Regions from separate parts of the Homo sapiens genome. Here all the other regions are linked to region 6. The links are contacts of gene promoters, found by promoter capture Hi-C in blood cells and fetal thymus (Javierre and others, 2016). All regions are on one chromosome and are shown on one strand. The core of a region is centred on a gene start or on the middle of the fragment in contact, and the rest is flanking DNA. Distances in the headings are between cores, read along the strand shown. Region 1 has its middle 4.2 kb from the start of TYW2. Region 2 overlaps RNF139-DT (RNF139 divergent transcript). Region 3 has its middle 1.8 kb from the start of TMEM65. Region 4 overlaps RNF139 (ring finger protein 139). Region 5 overlaps NDUFB9 (NADH:ubiquinone oxidoreductase subunit B9). Region 6 holds the start of DERL1 (derlin 1).

Evidence for each region. The method cuts DNA at HindIII sites, captures the fragments that hold promoters and counts their contacts. A CHiCAGO score of 5 or more calls a contact.
Region 1: a fragment that was not itself captured here is called in contact with the fragment with the promoter of DERL1 in region 6 in 7 of 17 cell types (total B cells, monocytes, fetal thymus and 4 more); the score reaches 10.4 in total B cells.
Region 2: a contact is called between a fragment that was not itself captured here and the fragment with the promoter of DERL1 in region 6, in 2 of 17 cell types (neutrophils and naive B cells). The highest score is 6.7, in neutrophils.
Region 3: a fragment that was not itself captured here is called in contact with the fragment with the promoter of DERL1 in region 6 in 1 of 17 cell types (total B cells); the score reaches 5.3 in total B cells.
Region 4: a fragment that was not itself captured here is called in contact with the fragment with the promoter of DERL1 in region 6 in 1 of 17 cell types (neutrophils); the score reaches 8.7 in neutrophils.
Region 5: a fragment that was not itself captured here is called in contact with the fragment with the promoter of DERL1 in region 6 in 2 of 17 cell types (neutrophils and monocytes); the score reaches 6.2 in neutrophils.

The regions. Positions count from the first base shown.
Region 1 is chr8:124,445,225-124,447,924 of GRCh38, forward strand. No RefSeq gene overlaps it. Among named protein-coding and RNA genes, the nearest start is that of TYW2, 4.2 kb to the right of the region's middle. The HindIII fragment of the contact is 2,542 bases long and covers 122-2,663 here.
Region 2 is chr8:124,462,458-124,465,157 of GRCh38, forward strand. It overlaps RNF139-DT (RNF139 divergent transcript), which reads right to left. Exons shown (of 2, transcript NR_108047.1): 2 at 36-2,700. Among named protein-coding and RNA genes, the nearest start is that of RNF139-DT, 11 kb to the right of the region's middle. The HindIII fragment of the contact is 1,028 bases long and covers 818-1,845 here.
Region 3 is chr8:124,373,102-124,375,801 of GRCh38, forward strand. No RefSeq gene overlaps it. Among named protein-coding and RNA genes, the nearest start is that of TMEM65, 1.8 kb to the left of the region's middle. RefSeq lists an enhancer at 1-162. The HindIII fragment of the contact is 1,073 bases long and covers 875-1,947 here.
Region 4 is chr8:124,478,736-124,481,435 of GRCh38, forward strand. The region is part of intron 1 of RNF139 (ring finger protein 139); the gene reads left to right. Among named protein-coding and RNA genes, the nearest start is that of RNF139, 5.2 kb to the left of the region's middle. The HindIII fragment of the contact is 4,337 bases long and covers 1-2,700 here.
Region 5 is chr8:124,540,453-124,543,152 of GRCh38, forward strand. It overlaps NDUFB9 (NADH:ubiquinone oxidoreductase subunit B9), which reads left to right. Exons shown (of 4, transcript NM_005005.3): 2 at 2,635-2,700. Among named protein-coding and RNA genes, the nearest start is that of NDUFB9, 2.7 kb to the left of the region's middle. The HindIII fragment of the contact is 4,221 bases long and covers 1-2,700 here.
Region 6 is chr8:123,041,020-123,043,719 of GRCh38, forward strand. It overlaps DERL1 (derlin 1), which reads right to left and starts at 1,283. Exons shown (of 8, transcript NM_024295.6): 1 at 951-1,283. The coding sequence starts at 1,103. RefSeq lists an enhancer at 693-1,232. The HindIII fragment of the contact is 6,787 bases long and covers 1-2,662 here.

The sequences.
Region 1 (2,700 bases), core at 143-2,642, 1.4 Mb after region 6:
ATTGTTGCTGTAAAGATGGGCCATTATCACTCTACAAGCTTTTAGGCAACCTGAATCTGGGAATCATATCCTTGAATGAAAATTTAGAAACCTTGATTGACTTTTCAGGCCAGATAGGAAAAGCTTCAATCCAACATGTAAAGAAAGGTATCAACCAACACTGATAAATATTGGAATCCTTTACATGGGGGCATTTGGGTATAGTGTGTTTGCCAATCTTCTTCTGGGTACGACCCCCTATGCTGAACAGGCTTTACTAATGGAGGAGGTAAAGTTTGGTTGTTTGAGGTTTTTTTGGGCACACAATTCACAGGCCCAAGTCACTTGTTTTACTGTTCTAAGAAAGTCTTTTCGGCCAGGCACGGTGGCTCACGCCTGTAATCCCAGCACTTTGGGAGGCTGAGGTGGGTGGATCACGAGGTCAGGAGTTCAAGACCAGCCTGGCCAACATGGTGAAACCCTGTCTTTACTAAAAATACAAAAATTAGCTGGGCATGGTGGCAGATGCCTGCAATCCCAGCTACTCGGGAGGCTGAGGCAGAGAATTGCTTGAACCCAGGAGGCAGAGGTTGCAGTGAGCTGAGATCACACCACTGCACTCCAGCCTGGGTGACAGAGCGAGACTCCGTCTCAAAAAAAAAAAGAAAGTCTTTCCCTATAAACAGATGAGCCATATTAATTGAAATGAGAAATCTCTTCCCAAATGAGTAGAGCCATGCCAATACTTAACTATTTTCCATTGATCAGCTCTTGGTACATATCATCTGTCATTTTCATCAATTAGCCATCTGGAAGTGCTTATAGTTAACCCATGGGTCTTAGCCCATTTTTGTTCTTTTCTAGTATTAACCATGCTCTAGTTTTATCGTCACCAAGGCAGTGGGCACCAACATGCCTACCAGATTAACTGGTTCCCTCAAATGAAGCTGCCTCAGCTGTAGCATCTGCAAAAGAATGCCCTTTTATTATTTTGGAGTTTTCTTTCTTTCTTTTCTTTTCTTTTTTTTCTTTTTTTTTTTTTTTTTGAGTCAGAGCCTTGCTCAAGTTGCCCAGGCTGGAGTGCAATGGCACGATCTCAGGCTCACTGCAACCTCTGCTGCCCAGGTTCAAGCAATTCTCCTGCCTTAGCCTCCCAGGTAGCTGGGATTACAGGCACGAGCCACCACGCCCAACTAATTTTTGTATTTTTAGTAGAGATGGGGTTTCACCCTGTTGGCAAGCCTGGTCTCGAACTCCTGACCTCATGATCCGCCCGCCTTAGCCCCTCAAAGTGCTGGGATTACAGGTGTGAGCCACAGTGCCTGGCATATTTTGGAGTTTTCTTTTTGATGTCCCTTGCAGTGAATCACAGCAACTTCCTTAGGCAGCAAGGAAGCATCTAGTAGATTTAAAATTCCCAAATAATGTTCTATAGGGGAGCCCTTAGAAGTTAAAGAGTCCCCATTATTTCCAAATAGCAGCATGAGCATGAAGCACCAGAAAGCCATACTTGGAGTTTGTGTACATGTTAATTCTTTTTTAAAATTATTATCCTTTTTTGAGACAGAGTCTCGCTCTGTCTCTAGCCTGGAGTGCAGTGGCATGACCTTGGCTTACTGCAAGCTCTGCCTCCTGGGTTCAAGTGATTCTCCTCCCTCAGCCTCCTGAGTAATTGGGACTACAGGTGTGCACCACCACGCCCAGGTAATTTTTGTATTTTTAGTACAAATGGGGTTTCACCATGTTGGCCAGGCTGTTCTGGAACTCCTGACCTCAAGTAATCCGCCTGCCTCAGCCTCCCAAAGTACTGGGATTACAGGTGTGAGCCACCACACCCAGCCCTAGTGGCCCGTCTTTTAAATCCTGCCAGCTGGAATAAATTTGTTCCATAGCTTGTGTACATGAATGATCTAGGGTGCCTTTGGATCCAAGTAGATACGTAGCTAGGATTAAGGTCTTCTGTTATACTTTAAGAGTTATATCAAGAGTATCTAGCAATAAAGCCTGATAATTTAATAACTATCCCCTACTCATCTATTGGTGCCCTTTAGCTTCTAGGGCCTCTGTTATTTGGTGTGGGGTCAAAACCTCCAGATGTTGTCCCAAAGTTAATTTATTGTCTTCATCTATGAGAAGAGCAGTTGTTGCAACTGCCCTGAAACATCTGAGTCATCCTGAAGCCACATGGTCAATTGGTTAGAAAAATATGCCATGGGTCAAGGGATGTATCCCTGTTTCTAGACAAGAACATTTAGGGCTGTCCCTTGTTTCTCAGCCACATAAAGGAAGAAAGTAAAGCCTGTCCCTAAACCCACGGGGAAGAATTGTCCAAGTTAACACAGAAACCAAAAGATTATTAGGTAATCAAAAGTAAAGACCACAATAGGGGACTCAGCAAAAGAAATGTTTCACTAGAGAAGGGAAATGACAAAGTTCTAGAAAGGAATGTCCAAGTTCAGGCCAGTAGCGGCAAGCAGGACAAGATTTACATGGCCTTGCCATTTGTAACCAAAAAGTAAAAGTCATTCCATTAGCAAGGAGATGAAAAAGAACTGCTGAAAAGCAATCTCCAGTTTTCCATCCTGGAGCAGTTCACCTAGGGGGGACTGGTATAATTGCTGCCAGGCTTAATCTTTCACATTGGACCTTTTCATTTAAAACTTGTAAATGCGAAATTCCAAGTAAGCTTTGCAAAAAAGGAGAGACAATAAACAATTCATT
Region 2 (2,700 bases), core at 82-2,581, 1.4 Mb after region 6:
TTATTTTGGTAGGAGGTGTGTGTCTCATTTTATTCTTTTTTCTCTCTGTTTCAGGGAGGTTCTACTGCTGCATCTTCAAGTTCACTGATCTTTCTTTCTGCAATATCTAATCTGCCATTAATCTCATCTAACATATTTTTCATCTCAGACATTGGAGTTTTCATCTCTAGAAGTTTGATACGGGTCTTTTTATACCTTCATTGTCTGTAATATCTTCAGTCTTTCCTCTGGTTTCTTGAATACATGGAATATAATTATAATAACTGTTTTAATGTCCTTGTCTAATAATCTTCATCATCTGTAATTTCTGAGTCAGTTTTGACAGAATGTTTTATTTTTTGTTTGTTTTGAGATGGAGTCTTGCTCTGTTGCCCAGGCTGGAGTGCATTGGCACAATCTCACTGCAACCTCTGCCTCCTGGGTTCAAGCAATTCTCCTGCCTTAGCCTCCTGAATAGCTGGGACTACAGGTGAGCACCACCACTCCCTGCTAATTTTTGTATTTTTAGTAGAGACGGGGTTTCGCCATGTTGGCCAGGCTGGTCTTGAACTCCTGACCTCAGGTCATCCACCTACCTTGGCCTCCCAAAGTGCTGGGATTACAGGTGTGAGCCACTGCACCTAGCCCAGAATGTTTTATTTTTCTTATTATGGGTTGTATTTTTCTGTTGCATGCCTGGTAATTTTTGATTGGATGCCAGCCATTGTGAATTTTACTTTGTAGATTATTTTCATATCCCTAAAACAGTTTGAACTTTCTTCTGGAGTATGATTAAGTTATTTGGACACAGTTTGAATGTTTTTGGGTCTCTCTTTTAAGCTTTGTTAGGTTATTCTAGAGCATTTAGTCGAGGGTTAATTTTTCCCGCTATTGAAGCAAGACCTTTCTTAGTACTCTAACTGGTGCCTTGTGAATTAGGATCTTTTCCACTCTTGCTGACGGGATCAGGAATCATTCACCATCCTGTGTGAGCTTTGAGTATTGTTTTCTTTAATCCTTTCTGATGGTTCTTTGCCAAGCCTTTGGTTATTTCCTCTCATGCATGTACTAATCATTATTTAGCTTAATACTTCAGGAGAATGGTCAGCAGATCTCTGGAGTTCTCTCTGTGTCACTCTGTCCTCTCTAGTATTCTACCCTGTGAACTCTAGTTGCCTTGGGCTCTCAGGACTCCCACTTATATCTCCTCACCTCACAGAGTCTTCTGGGTTCCCTCTCCCCATGCCAAAGCCTTTCTTCAGGCAGCAAGTTGGAGCAATTGTATTGCTCACCTTGTTTGCATTCCATCTCTCATGGATTACTATCCTTCACTGCCTATGTCCAATGCCTTCAGGGCCATTGTTTCATATATTTTGCCCATTTAAAAAAAGTATTTGGAAGTTTATAATTACTTTCTACTTAAATTTACTAGCTGTCACAATCATTACTGAAGAAATTCACTCTTGCAATAATATACATATGTACTTCATTTGACACAGAATTTCAACATGTAAAGCATATAAGAATTTCTTGCCACAATCATGTTTAGAATGCTTACCTATAAGGTGAATATTAAAATATTAGTAAATACAATGACTTTTTTCAGATTAGACATGATAAATAACCTGCAAGGTTACTTGACCATTGGTCACACAGAATTTCAGAGAGATCAGAACCAGTGTCAAAATAGGTATTTGTCTTTTTGGCTTTTTAAAGGTCAAGGTTGAATCAAGGGTAAACGAAAATATTGCATGAACATGAAGCTAAAATTGAATTTTATGTAACACAACAACAGCACTGGGTAAATAGAGATAGGTGGATAGACTGTCTCAGTTTCTTTTTAATAATTTTTATTTTTTTAATCGAAGCTTTACACATAATTTAAAAACTCAAAGGTAACAAAACCTAATATGAAAAAAGCCCACCATGATGAAGCAGCTGTTCTGCAGGTGTTTTGCCCTCATTCTGTGTGTCTACTTTCAATTCCAAATGGGCTTATATGACCAAAGAGATGCAGGATCTAACCAACATGTACCAACAGGAACCATGAGCATGTGTATGGAACTGGGTCCTGAGAGTGCTGGACAAGAATTAAGTTTGTGTTTATATAGGACAGCAGTACCCATTTATAGTATTGGCTTAGGGTTATGTTAACTCTTCCACACTGCGTCATAATCCGAAGAGATCTAGACCATCTAAACATCCCACATAATGTCACAATGACCTACCACATTGATGACATCATGCTAGCTGGATAAGGTGAATAATAAGCAGCTAGCATACTGTACACTGGAGGATGGGAAATAATCCTTAAGACCCAGCAAGCTGTTACCTCAGTGAAACTTTTAGGGCCCAGTAGGCTGCTTGAATGCCAAGATATCCCCTTCACAGTAAAGGACAAATTATTGCATCTCACCCACTCATTTCACCAAAATTATTCTGCCACCAGGGAAGCACACCAAGCTGTGTAGGCTTCTGTGGGAATTCAGAAGTTGGCAGTACTGTTCTGACTCGTAAACTGGGTGAGATAGAAATCTGCCAGTTTTCAGTGGGATCCATAGCATGTAAAAGTTCTCTAGCAGGTATGGTGTATTTAGCCCTGTTGCATGGACCAATTCAGGATATTCTATGGGACAAGAGTAAATGTGATAAGAAGCCATGAAAGTTGAAGGCAAGCTCCAATGGGAGAATCACAAGGTCGACTCCTGGCATTCTGTGGCA
Region 3 (2,700 bases), core at 161-2,660, 1.3 Mb after region 6:
CCAGCTGCGCCCTTCGCCAAGTCAGCGCCCACCGCCGCTTCGGCCGAGCAGGCCGGCTCTAATGCAGTCGCTCTGGGCGCCCCAAAGAGAAAGCGAAGCCAGTTCCACCCCTGCCCAAGGAGGGTCTGAGACTGAGCCCTTGACACGAGAACAGTCCTCCCCGTTCAGATTCCAGCAGCTGGCATGCAAATTGTTAATGCTAGAGGCAGAGGCAAGAATGTCATAGACCTTTCCTAGTGGTTGCTTGTGATTTTTTTGTCTCTGTGCTAAAGCGGGAAGAATAATTTGATTGTCCACGATTTCCCCTGATCCAGGTCCTAGGCATCTTTCAAGGCCCAGGTGAAAGGTCTCCTACTTCATTAAGCTGTCCCTAATCTCTTCTAAGGGAGGAGATCTCTGCTTTATCTGAACCTGTCTAATGACGCTTAGGCACCCTTAGAGAATAAATCCACTTAATAAATCTGCTGGAGCGTAATCAAGATCTAAATCCCATCCTTATCATAAACAGTGCTGCACTCAGCCCGGAAACTTGTAGGTAGTAAATGTGCTACATGTAAGTAGAATATTAAACTGAATAATGGAGGATTGTTACCACTAAAGCCTCCTACTTCTCTAACTCTGGTTCTCAAAGTGTGTCCCAGAGCTTTTTAGACGTGAGAAATAGTGGACCCCACTTCACACCTCCTGAATCAGAACGTAGACATTGGACCCAGTCATGTGGGTTTTAACAAGCCCTCCAGTAATAACACACACGAAAGCTTGAGAAACACTGATGTCTCTTAAACATTGAAAGGAATCGCTTCTTTTTTAAATTCCAAGGTGATGCCTCTGTGATGTAATAACAACAATTAAGAATGCTCTCTGTGGAAATGAAAGCTTTTTGAGTGCATAAAGTATATCTTCCTTGTCTTTGAAACCCCCTTCATTCCCTAGTGTGCACTGGAATCCTCTGCAGAGCTATTTCAGTCTCAGGCTCATGGGAGTACCACCCCATCCCCCCCACAATTTCCTACCCCCAAGATATTCTGATTCACTGGGGTGGATCACAGGCCCCAGACCTGGGAAGTGAGGTTTGAAAAAAGTTCTTCAGTAAGAACCCATTCCCAACCACCTCCAGAATAGTAGTTTAGTGTGTAGCCTCCAGAGACAGACTGTGGAAAGTTCGATCCCTGGATCAACCGTCTCCTAACTATGTGTTAGTATTAGATTGTTATAGTAGTGATCCCCAATGAACTACACCTTCTATTATCCGCTCCGTTGTGTGGTCCACCTCTACATTGACTGTGGGCTTGGCTATTTGACTTGTTTTGGTCAATAAATAGGAGGACATCATAAACGTGATATGATACATGTTTGCTCATTGGGGTTTGCTGTAATGCTTTTGCTATATTACTATAGAATATTTAATTCTATTATAAAACAAGAGAAACTAAAATGTAGAAGCAAGTCACTTATGAGAAAGGTTACACATAGAATGAATGGATATGGGTTGAACATAGATAAAAAGGATGGAACAAATGAAAATGCTGCTTTAGATAGAGGCAGAAAGACAAAGTGGACTTTTAAGTATTAATAAGGTACAGATCATACTATCTTCAGATTTACAGCCATGTCATCCCTAAATTGCATACCTACTGGTAACACCCATTGTAACGCTATTATGGCCTCATGTAATCTCTTCCCAAGAAAAGCAGATAAACCCCCAGCTACAAAGCCAACTAATGCCAGCTACCATTATAACCAGACACACTTGCCCCTCAGCTCTGTAACAGAACAGACATATGTTGAGCCCAGGCCCCTTCAGTCTGTTGAGTCACCTTACTTACTCTCCAGTCTGGTCCTTGTAGCCACACTATGTGCTGAGAAGACTGGATGGTGGAGAGGGATAAGACATGAGAACATTGCATAAAACAGAATTTAGGTGCTATGGTCCTTCAGCCTATCCTAAGCTTATTAATCTACCCTATCTCTTTCCCCTTGCTTCTCACTCTGTTTTATGTTGGTTGGTAAACTCTTCTGGTTATTATTGCTGCTCTTTGGGTAGACACATTATGCCAAAACTTAGTAGTTTAATTAGCCAATTTATTTTGCTCTTAATTTTGAGGCTCAGAAATTGGGGAAGAACTTACTTGGACAGTTATTTTATTGGAGTCGTTTATGTAGTATCAATCAGATTTCAACACAACTGCTGTCATTTGAAAGTTCAGCTGGGCTGAATAGCTAAGATGGCTCACTGACATGGCTGACTGGTAGCTCAAATGGGGCTGAGAACCAGAGCACTTTCACACAGCCACTCCAGCATGGTGATCTTCTCACCAGACAGCTGGCTTTCCCCAGAGTGAATGTCTAAAAAGAAGCAGGCTTGTGGCGTTTTCTGACCTATCCTTGGAAGTCACACAGTATCACTTCCACTGTATTCTACTGGCTATAAGCCAACCCCTAGGGCCAGCCCCTATTCAAGGGAAAGGGATATAAACCCCACATCTTAATAGGAGTAATGCCAAAACCTTTGAGGATACGTTTTAGAACCACCAGATAATGTGATTTAAGCTTCTTAATTTGGCCTATAAGCCTATCTATTTCGTGACCTGTAGGTGTATACATGGAGGCTGCCATTGCATCAAGGTAATTTTCCACATGGAAAAATTGCCTCGAAGACATTTACCTTTTGGAATCCAGCTGCTGCATAAAGAAGTCTGA
Region 4 (2,700 bases), core at 130-2,629, 1.4 Mb after region 6:
TTGAGACGGAGTTTGCTCTTGTTGCCCAGGCCGGAGTGCAATGGCGTGATCTCGGCTCACCACAACTTCCACCTCCCAGGTTCGGGCGATTCTCCGGCCTCAGCCTCCCGAGTAGCTAGGATGATTACAGGCAAGCGCCACCACCCCCGGCAAATTTTTTTCTATTTTTAGTAGAGACAGGTTTTCTCCATGTTGGTCAGGCTGTTCTCCAACTCCCGACCTCAGGTGATCTGCCCACATCGTCCTCCCAGAGTGCTGGGATTACAGGCGTGAGCCACCGTGCCTGGCCCGGAAGACTCTTAATTTCAGTGTAAAACCATTTGGCAGTATCAACTGTCATTTACAACTGACTTCTCAGTGTTTTGTTTTGTTTTTGAGACAGTCTCACTCTGTCACCAAGGCTGGAGTGCAGTGGCGTGATCTCAGCACACTGCAACCTCCACCTCCCAGGTTCAAGCGATTCTCCTGCCTCAGCCTCCCAAGTAGCTGGGATGCCTGGCTCGTACAACTTTTGACTCACAATTTCAATTCTAGGGAATTGGCCTAGAGAGATAGTTTGCTTAAGGACTATGGGCAAGCATTACTGGAAATAACAAAGCAACAAACTTAATCTAAATATGTATTGATACAAATCTGTTCATTGTATTAGGTCTAGCCATGCAATAAAGTTCTTGAAAGAAATGAGATAGCTATTTTTGGTGCCGAAAAAGACTTCAGAAAACCTCTGAAGTGAAAAAACAAAGCCGAAGTAATTATCACTGGCAGAGGAATAGACAGAGATTTCTCAACAGTGGCAGTATTGACATTTTGGACAGGATAATTCTTTGTTTGCGGATGGGAGCTCTCCTGTGCACTGTAAGATTTTTAGCAGCATCACTATCCCCTGCCCATTAGATGCCAGTAGCACCTTGCACCCCCACACCCCAGTGTGACAGCCAAAACTGTCCCTGGATATTGCCAAATCATGGTTGAGAACCATTGGGATAGACAAATAGATTAGTACTTAGCCTTATTTATAATTACATAGCCCAGAAACAGACACCAATGTATATATAGAAATAATGTGTTTCAGAGATAGAATTGAAGTACATTGAGGTAAATATGGACTGTTGAATTAATGATCATTTTGTTACACCTTTGGAAATAAATTATACTAGATGTCTACCTTATGTCAATATATAGACAGTCACTTCTAGGTTGAGCAGTGTAGTGAGACCCTGTCTCTGCAAAAATAAATATTTAAAATAATAGCCATACTTGGTGGTGGGTGCCTGTAGTCCTATCTTACTCAGGAGGCTGGGGTGAGAAGATCGCTTGGGCCTAGGAGTTCAAGGCTGCAAGTGAGCTATGATTGCATAACTGCACTCCAGCCTGGCTGGGTGACAGAGCAAGACCCTGTCTCTTAAAAAAAAAAAATAGTCATTTCTAAGTGTATTCTTACCTAGATGTATATGTAAATATGAAATGCAGAACTTTAAATTTTTAGAAAAAAATATGGAATATTTTATTTTTCCAATCTTAGATTAAGGAAGAAATCCTTAAAAATATATAAAAGCAAATACATAATGAAGATTGATAAACCGAATGATATTGAGGTTAAAAACCTATGTTAATCAAAAGATCGCACCACTGCACTCCAGCCTGGGCAACAGAGCGAGACTCCATCACTAAAAAAAAAAAAAAAAAAAAAAGGAAGTCAAATCTTGGGTAAGGGGGAACTACTGTACTTACATTTACCCATTTATTATAAAGGCAATTACAAAGGACACAGATGAATTAACCCGATGGAAGGAGATGTACAAGGTGAGACAAAGAAGGAGAGAAGAGGAGAAGGGGCGTGGAGCTTCAGTGTTCAGCTATCTGAGAGCTCACAGAACTCAGTCCTTTTGGGCTTCTATGGAAGTTCATTAAATAGGCAAGATTGATTAGATCACTAGTCATTGGTTTATGGACTCAAGTTTCAGCTTCTTTCTTCCCAGAAGTGGCGGCTGGGGGTAGGAATCAAAGTTATAACCCTTAATCACTGGGCTGATTCCCCTGGCTACCTAGCCCCCATCCTGAAGCTATCTAGGGGCCCCCAGGCACCAGTCATCTGATTATTGTACAAAACAGTCATCACTCCAGAGATTCCAAGGATTTTAGAAGCTATGTCAGAAAATGGGACAAAGACCAAATATTAATATTTTTTTTATGATATCACAGATGGGAAAGACAAACTAGAAAAACTTGCTTTAACTCTTCATTTAACACCTCTCTGTAGGGTTTGGCTTTTTAAAATCCATGTTCATATATTTTTGATAAAAGCATACTTATTATAAGTTTAGTTTAAAAGCAAAAGTTTAATTTTGTGTTAATACTTAGAATACCAGGTTTTTTTTCAACCTAAAATGAGAATCCAATAGAAATGTTTTCTTTATAATTTATCAAGTATACCAACAGATTAACAACATTTCAAGACACTTTGTTGTAAACTTCATTGCGGAAGGCTCCCTTGGGAGTAAGGTAGTAGTAACATTTATTTCTGTGCTTTTCCATATTTATTCTGTCAGGTATTGAAATGTTTTTCCACAGGTTGCTTTTTGTTTTAGAGGTATTTCGGGTACTTGGAGAATTGTAAATATTATGTTTTGTACCCTGATTTTTAGTCATAAGTTTCCAAAAGAGGGTAAGGGTATGAATAGACTTTACACATAAAAGAGT
Region 5 (2,700 bases), core at 125-2,624, 1.5 Mb after region 6:
GTAAATGTTTGAGGTGATGAATATCCAAATTACCCTGATTTGATCATTATACATTATATGGATGTATTAAAATATCACATGTACCCCATAAATAGGTACAATAATTATGTGTCAAAAAAAGTTAAACATGAAAAAAAGAATTCAAGCAATACTGAACTATAGCTGGGAATACTAAAGTCCATAGTTCTAGAGGAAAATGATATAAACTAGCTACTATGACAGTTATGGCTCAGCATTTTTTAGATCTGACATTCTTTCTCAATCCTTGCCTTAATTTCTTCCTCCATTTGCCCTCATTGTGCTGTTCTCTGTGGTTCCATCCTAGGCATACTGTGTTGTTGTATGTACTCGGGCAGCCTCATTTAGTGCTGTCACCACCTGCGCTCATTTGTCTCTAGAGCTGTAGTTCGAATTGCTTGTTAGATCACGACTGTTGGCTGGGCATGATGGCTCACGCCTATAATCCCAGTACTTTGGGAGGCTGAGGTGAGTGGATCACCTGAGGCCAGGAGTTCAACAGCCTGGCCTACATGTGAAACCGCGTCTCTACTAAAAATACAAAAATTAGCCAGGCGTGGTGGTGGGTGCCTGTAATCCCAGCTACTCATGAGGCTGAGGCAGAAGAACCGCTTGAACCTGGGAGGCAGAGGCTGCAGTGAGCCGAGATAGCCCCATTGCACTCCAGCCTGGGCGACAAGAGTGAAACTTTGTCTCAAAAAATAATAATAAAAAAAAAATTGAAAAGATCACCAACCGTTCTCTCAATCTCCATTTATCTAAATTCTTTGAAATCAAACTTGTTTTCCTGTCACTCCCCATTCTGACTCTTTTCCCAAATTCCCTGCCTCCGCTAATGGTATTATTAGTAATTCAGTTACTGAGCTTTAAGTCTCAGAATTGTTCTCAAGTATTTGCTCCTTATTCCTTTGCCAATAACACACATACTCATACACCATGTATAATTAGACACTGGTTTTTATAAATTCTCTTTCCAGTATGATATTAGTAACTGACATTATTTAACACTTGGGATGTACCAGGCACTTTTTAAAGTGTGTTTATCTTATTGACTGTTTATGACAACCTTAAGATATACACACTGTTATTGCCACTGTTTTACAGAGGAGGAACCCGTGGCCTAGAAGACTTTTTTTGTTTGTTTTTTTGTTAGACGGAGTTTCGCTTATGTTGCCCAGGCTGGAGTGCAGTGGCGCGATCTTGGCTCACCGCAAGTTCCGTCTCCCGGGTTCAAGCAATTCTCCTGCCTCAGTCTCCCGAGTAGCTGGGATTACAGGCATGCGCCACCACGCCTGGCTAATTTTTGTATTTTTAGTAGAGACGGGGTTTTGCCATGTTGGCCAGGCTGGTCTTGAACTCCTGACCTCAGGTGACCTCCACCTCAGCCTCCCAAAGTGCTGGGATTACAGGCGTGAGCCACCGTGCCTGGCCTTTTTGTTGTTGTTGTTGTTGTTTTTTTTTGAGATGAAGTCTCGCTCTTGTCCCCCAGGCTGGAGTGCAAATGGCACAATCTCGACTCACTGCAACCTCTGCCTCCCGGGTTCAAGCTATTCTCCTGCCTTGGCCCCCAGAGTAGCTGGGATTACAGGTGCCTGCCACCACGCCCGGCTAGTTTTTGTATTTTTAGCTGAGACGGGATTTCACCATGTTGGCCAGGCTGGTGTAGAACTCCTCACCTCAGATGATCCCCCTGCCTTGGCCTCCCAAAGTGCTGGGATTACAGGCGTGAGCCACCATGCCCGGCCTCATTTTTGTATTTTTAGTAGAGACGGGGTTTCTCCATGTTGATCAGGCTTGTCTTGAACTCCAGACCTCAGGTGATCCACACGCCTTGGCCTCCCAACGTGCTGGGATTACAGGTGTGAGCCACCGCACCTGACCAGAAGACAGTAACTTACCCCAAGTTACACAGCTAGTAGTGGCAGAGCTAAGATTCAGGCCCATACAGTCTGACTGGAGAGCCTATTCTCATAACTTGGAAGTCTCAATGTCTCCCCTGTCTCCTGTCACCATCACAGCTCCGTACTTTCAGGCCCTCGTCAGCTGTGTCCTAGATTATTGTCAAAACCTCCTAACTGATCTTTGCCCAGTTTCTTTAGAACTTGACTTTAACTTGCCTAAGTTTATGCAGCTAGTGTCAGAGTCAGGATACAAACCTAGCTCTGTATGAGCTAAGCAATACTGTTTCTGCCAAGTAACACCTTTCTTATTCATCTTTGTATCTCCAGAATTTAGCATAGTGACTAGCACAAGATAGAAGGAAATGGAAGTTGTCATTCAATGAATGTTGAATGATCCTGCAGAGGTTATAGCTTTTCTCTTGCGAATGCTCTTTTCTTTTTTTTTTTTTTTTTTTTTGTTTAAATCCTCATTCCATTGTTGGATGTAAGAGGAGAAAAATGGTTAGGGTATATATTTAATACAGTATTTTTTTGCTGCTGCTGTTTGGTGGGCTGTAGAGGAAGCAGCCATGATGATACGGCTGCTCCATTGGGAGGGTTGGGGTAGGTCCACTGCCCATCCAGAAGGTATCAGAAGTGCAGCCTCCTGTCAGACAGCAACACTGACCACGTGAGTAGGTAACATTTCTAATCTTCAAAATCATTTTGGTTTAAGAGACAAATACCGATACTTTGCTTGTTTGATGAGAGCCCGGTTTGAAGAACATAAGAATGAAAAGGA
Region 6 (2,700 bases), core at 33-2,532:
TGTAAAGCCCTGAGGCTGAATGAATGAGACCACCTAAAGCTAGGGAGAGTCTATAGAAAAGGTCCTATAACTGATTCCCAAGGCACATCCTAACATTTAAAAGTCAGGAAGATAAGGAACCAGCAAAGGAAACCAAGAAGTAACACCCAGTGAAGACAGGGAAAGACAAGAAAATGTTATCCATAGGCCAAGTAAAGGGCTGAAATTAATGCCAGATCTTGCTATCTGACCTGCCACTGATTGAAGTTTTAAATCAGAAATTGGTGAATACAGATAACCTTCAGAAAACTGGCACTCTCTTGACAGAAATGTTACTCTGGACTGTTTCCTTCATGCTTAAGAAAATAACAAGGCCTTCCATTTCTGGACAAATGTACTCTTTGCCCATTCCTTCGTACATTCTATTACTACGTGGGGGACACTAAATTAGGTCTAGAGGGAAATGCAGAACAATACACTCGTTCTTTGTATCTCTGACTTTAAATCACTCCTATAGGAAAACCAAAACAAAAAAACTCCATAAACGTGAAAGGAACTCAGCTATAAGTTGGTGAAGTTGACACCTACAGGCCACCCACGTGGGTGACAGAGGGAGGTCAGAGGGCAATGCTCCAGGCGGACCTAATCGCCAGCGTCCAACAGATTGACAACTACCAACGACTAATCTCACTGCTTCCTTCACTGAGTGCGAAGAGCGGGAAGCACAATCTCACTATACCAGTGAAGTCAACCCCTCCCCACCAGGCCAGCCCACAACTCCAGCTATCCAGCACCCCGCTCCAGATCCCAGAGCCTCCCCGGGCCCAAAGGACCCCGCCCTAAACCGCCGGCGCCGGACCCACTACAAATCCCAGCAGGCACCGCGCGCCCGCAACATGCCAGCCTACGCTTAGCCGCCGCTGGGCCTCCTGGGGCCTGTAGTCTCCACGCCCCCCGTCTCCGGTAAGTACCTGAAAGCGATAAAGGAAGGCTTCGGGCCAGAGGAAGAGGTAGGCCGGGCTGATGAGGCCGAGTTTGCCGACCAAGGGCACGGCGACGGTGGCGGCGAACCAATAGCGCGTGATCGCCGGGATGCTCCTGAACCAGTCTCCGATGTCCGACATCTTCGACCCACAGGTAGCCAAGATGCACAAGACCGCCCGACTCCCCGTGCCGACCCCCTCACGACGCGGCCGGCTCCGCGACTGTTAGGTGTCTAGGTGGAAGCCGCCGAAGCCGCGATGCAGAAGGCGGAGACGGGCGGACGTGGCGCCACCGAATTCGGACCAGCGAGGCAGCCTTCTGAGGCGAAACTTCCCCTTCCGGCGACCGCGGACGACGTGACCAGAAGTCCCGCCGCTTAAAGGGTAAGCGCCGATTTTACCGCCCGGCCGAGGCTCGGCGTCCTGGGGGGCGGAGCCAGGTAGAGCGACTACACGACTGGTGGGAAAACAGTGGTTGCCTGGATCAACGGCAAACGCTCCGGCCAGTGGCGAGGCCAAATGCCATTCACCTAGTTCTCAGAGTTTTAATGCGGCTGGGTCCACCTGGAGGGTATTTAAAGGGGACGAAGGCAAACGAAGTGTCTAGTTCCTCGTCTGCTTACTCATTCCACAAGTGTTTGTTGGGCACAGTTCTAGACACTGGGCAGCTGCGGCTGTCAGCGCTGTCGTGGTACCCTCTCTCCTGATCTTAACATCCTCATTGGGATAATTTATAAACAAATAGATAATGAAGTAAGATAATCTCAGAGAGTGATTAGAAAAATAGGAAAATGAAATGAGATGATGAGGTGGAGTGACGGGGTGGGGGTGCGGCAGTGTGAGGACAGATGGCTACCTTAGGTATGAACTGGGCCAGCCAGGCAAGAGATCTGGGGGAAGAATTTTCCATGCACAGAGAAAAGCCGCTCTAACTAGGTTGGAATGTTGGAGGAACTAAAAGCCAAAATGATCCATCTTGTCTAATTCAACTTGTATAAGAAGGAATCTTTAAGAAAAGATACTGGCCAGGCGCGGTGGCTCACGCCTGTAATCCCAGCACTTTGGGAGGCCGAGGCGGGCGGATCACGAGGTCAGGAGTTCGAGACCAGCCTGGCCAACATGATGAAACCCCGTCTCTACTAAAAATACAAAAATTAGCCGGGCATGGTGGAGGGCGCCTGTAGTCCCAGCTACTTGGGAGGCTGAGGCAGGAGAATCGCTTGAACCCGGGAGGTGGAGGTTACAGCGAGCCGAGATTGCACCATTGCACTCCAGCCTGGGGGACAAGAGCCAGACTCCATCTCAAAAAAAAGAAAAAAAGAAAAGATACTGAGTAGAGTTTCCCGTTGTTTTGGGATTTGGGGCCAGCAGTTTAAGATTGCTAAAGTCTTCCAATAAAGAGCACCAGGAACAAACCTGTAGTCAACAAAGTTAGATTTATTAACTTGCTGCAGCAAGGGAGACTGCACTCCAGAGGAACCTCAATGCCTCTCATCAAACGGAAGTGTCATTATTGGGTTATGGGAATGGGGGGATTTTTTGGTAAGAATTAACTGGAGCAGTGTTTGATAGACTCGAAGCAAAGCAGAGCTGTGTGCAGCATCAGGTTAACATCAGACCTGAGTAGGAAGCAGGCTCTTTCCTTGGAAATCTCAAAATTACGACAAATGTGAAACGTTGGGTCTGAAAACTCTATCTAAAGCTTTGTACCTGTATTGAAAATCCTGTGTCAAAGTGA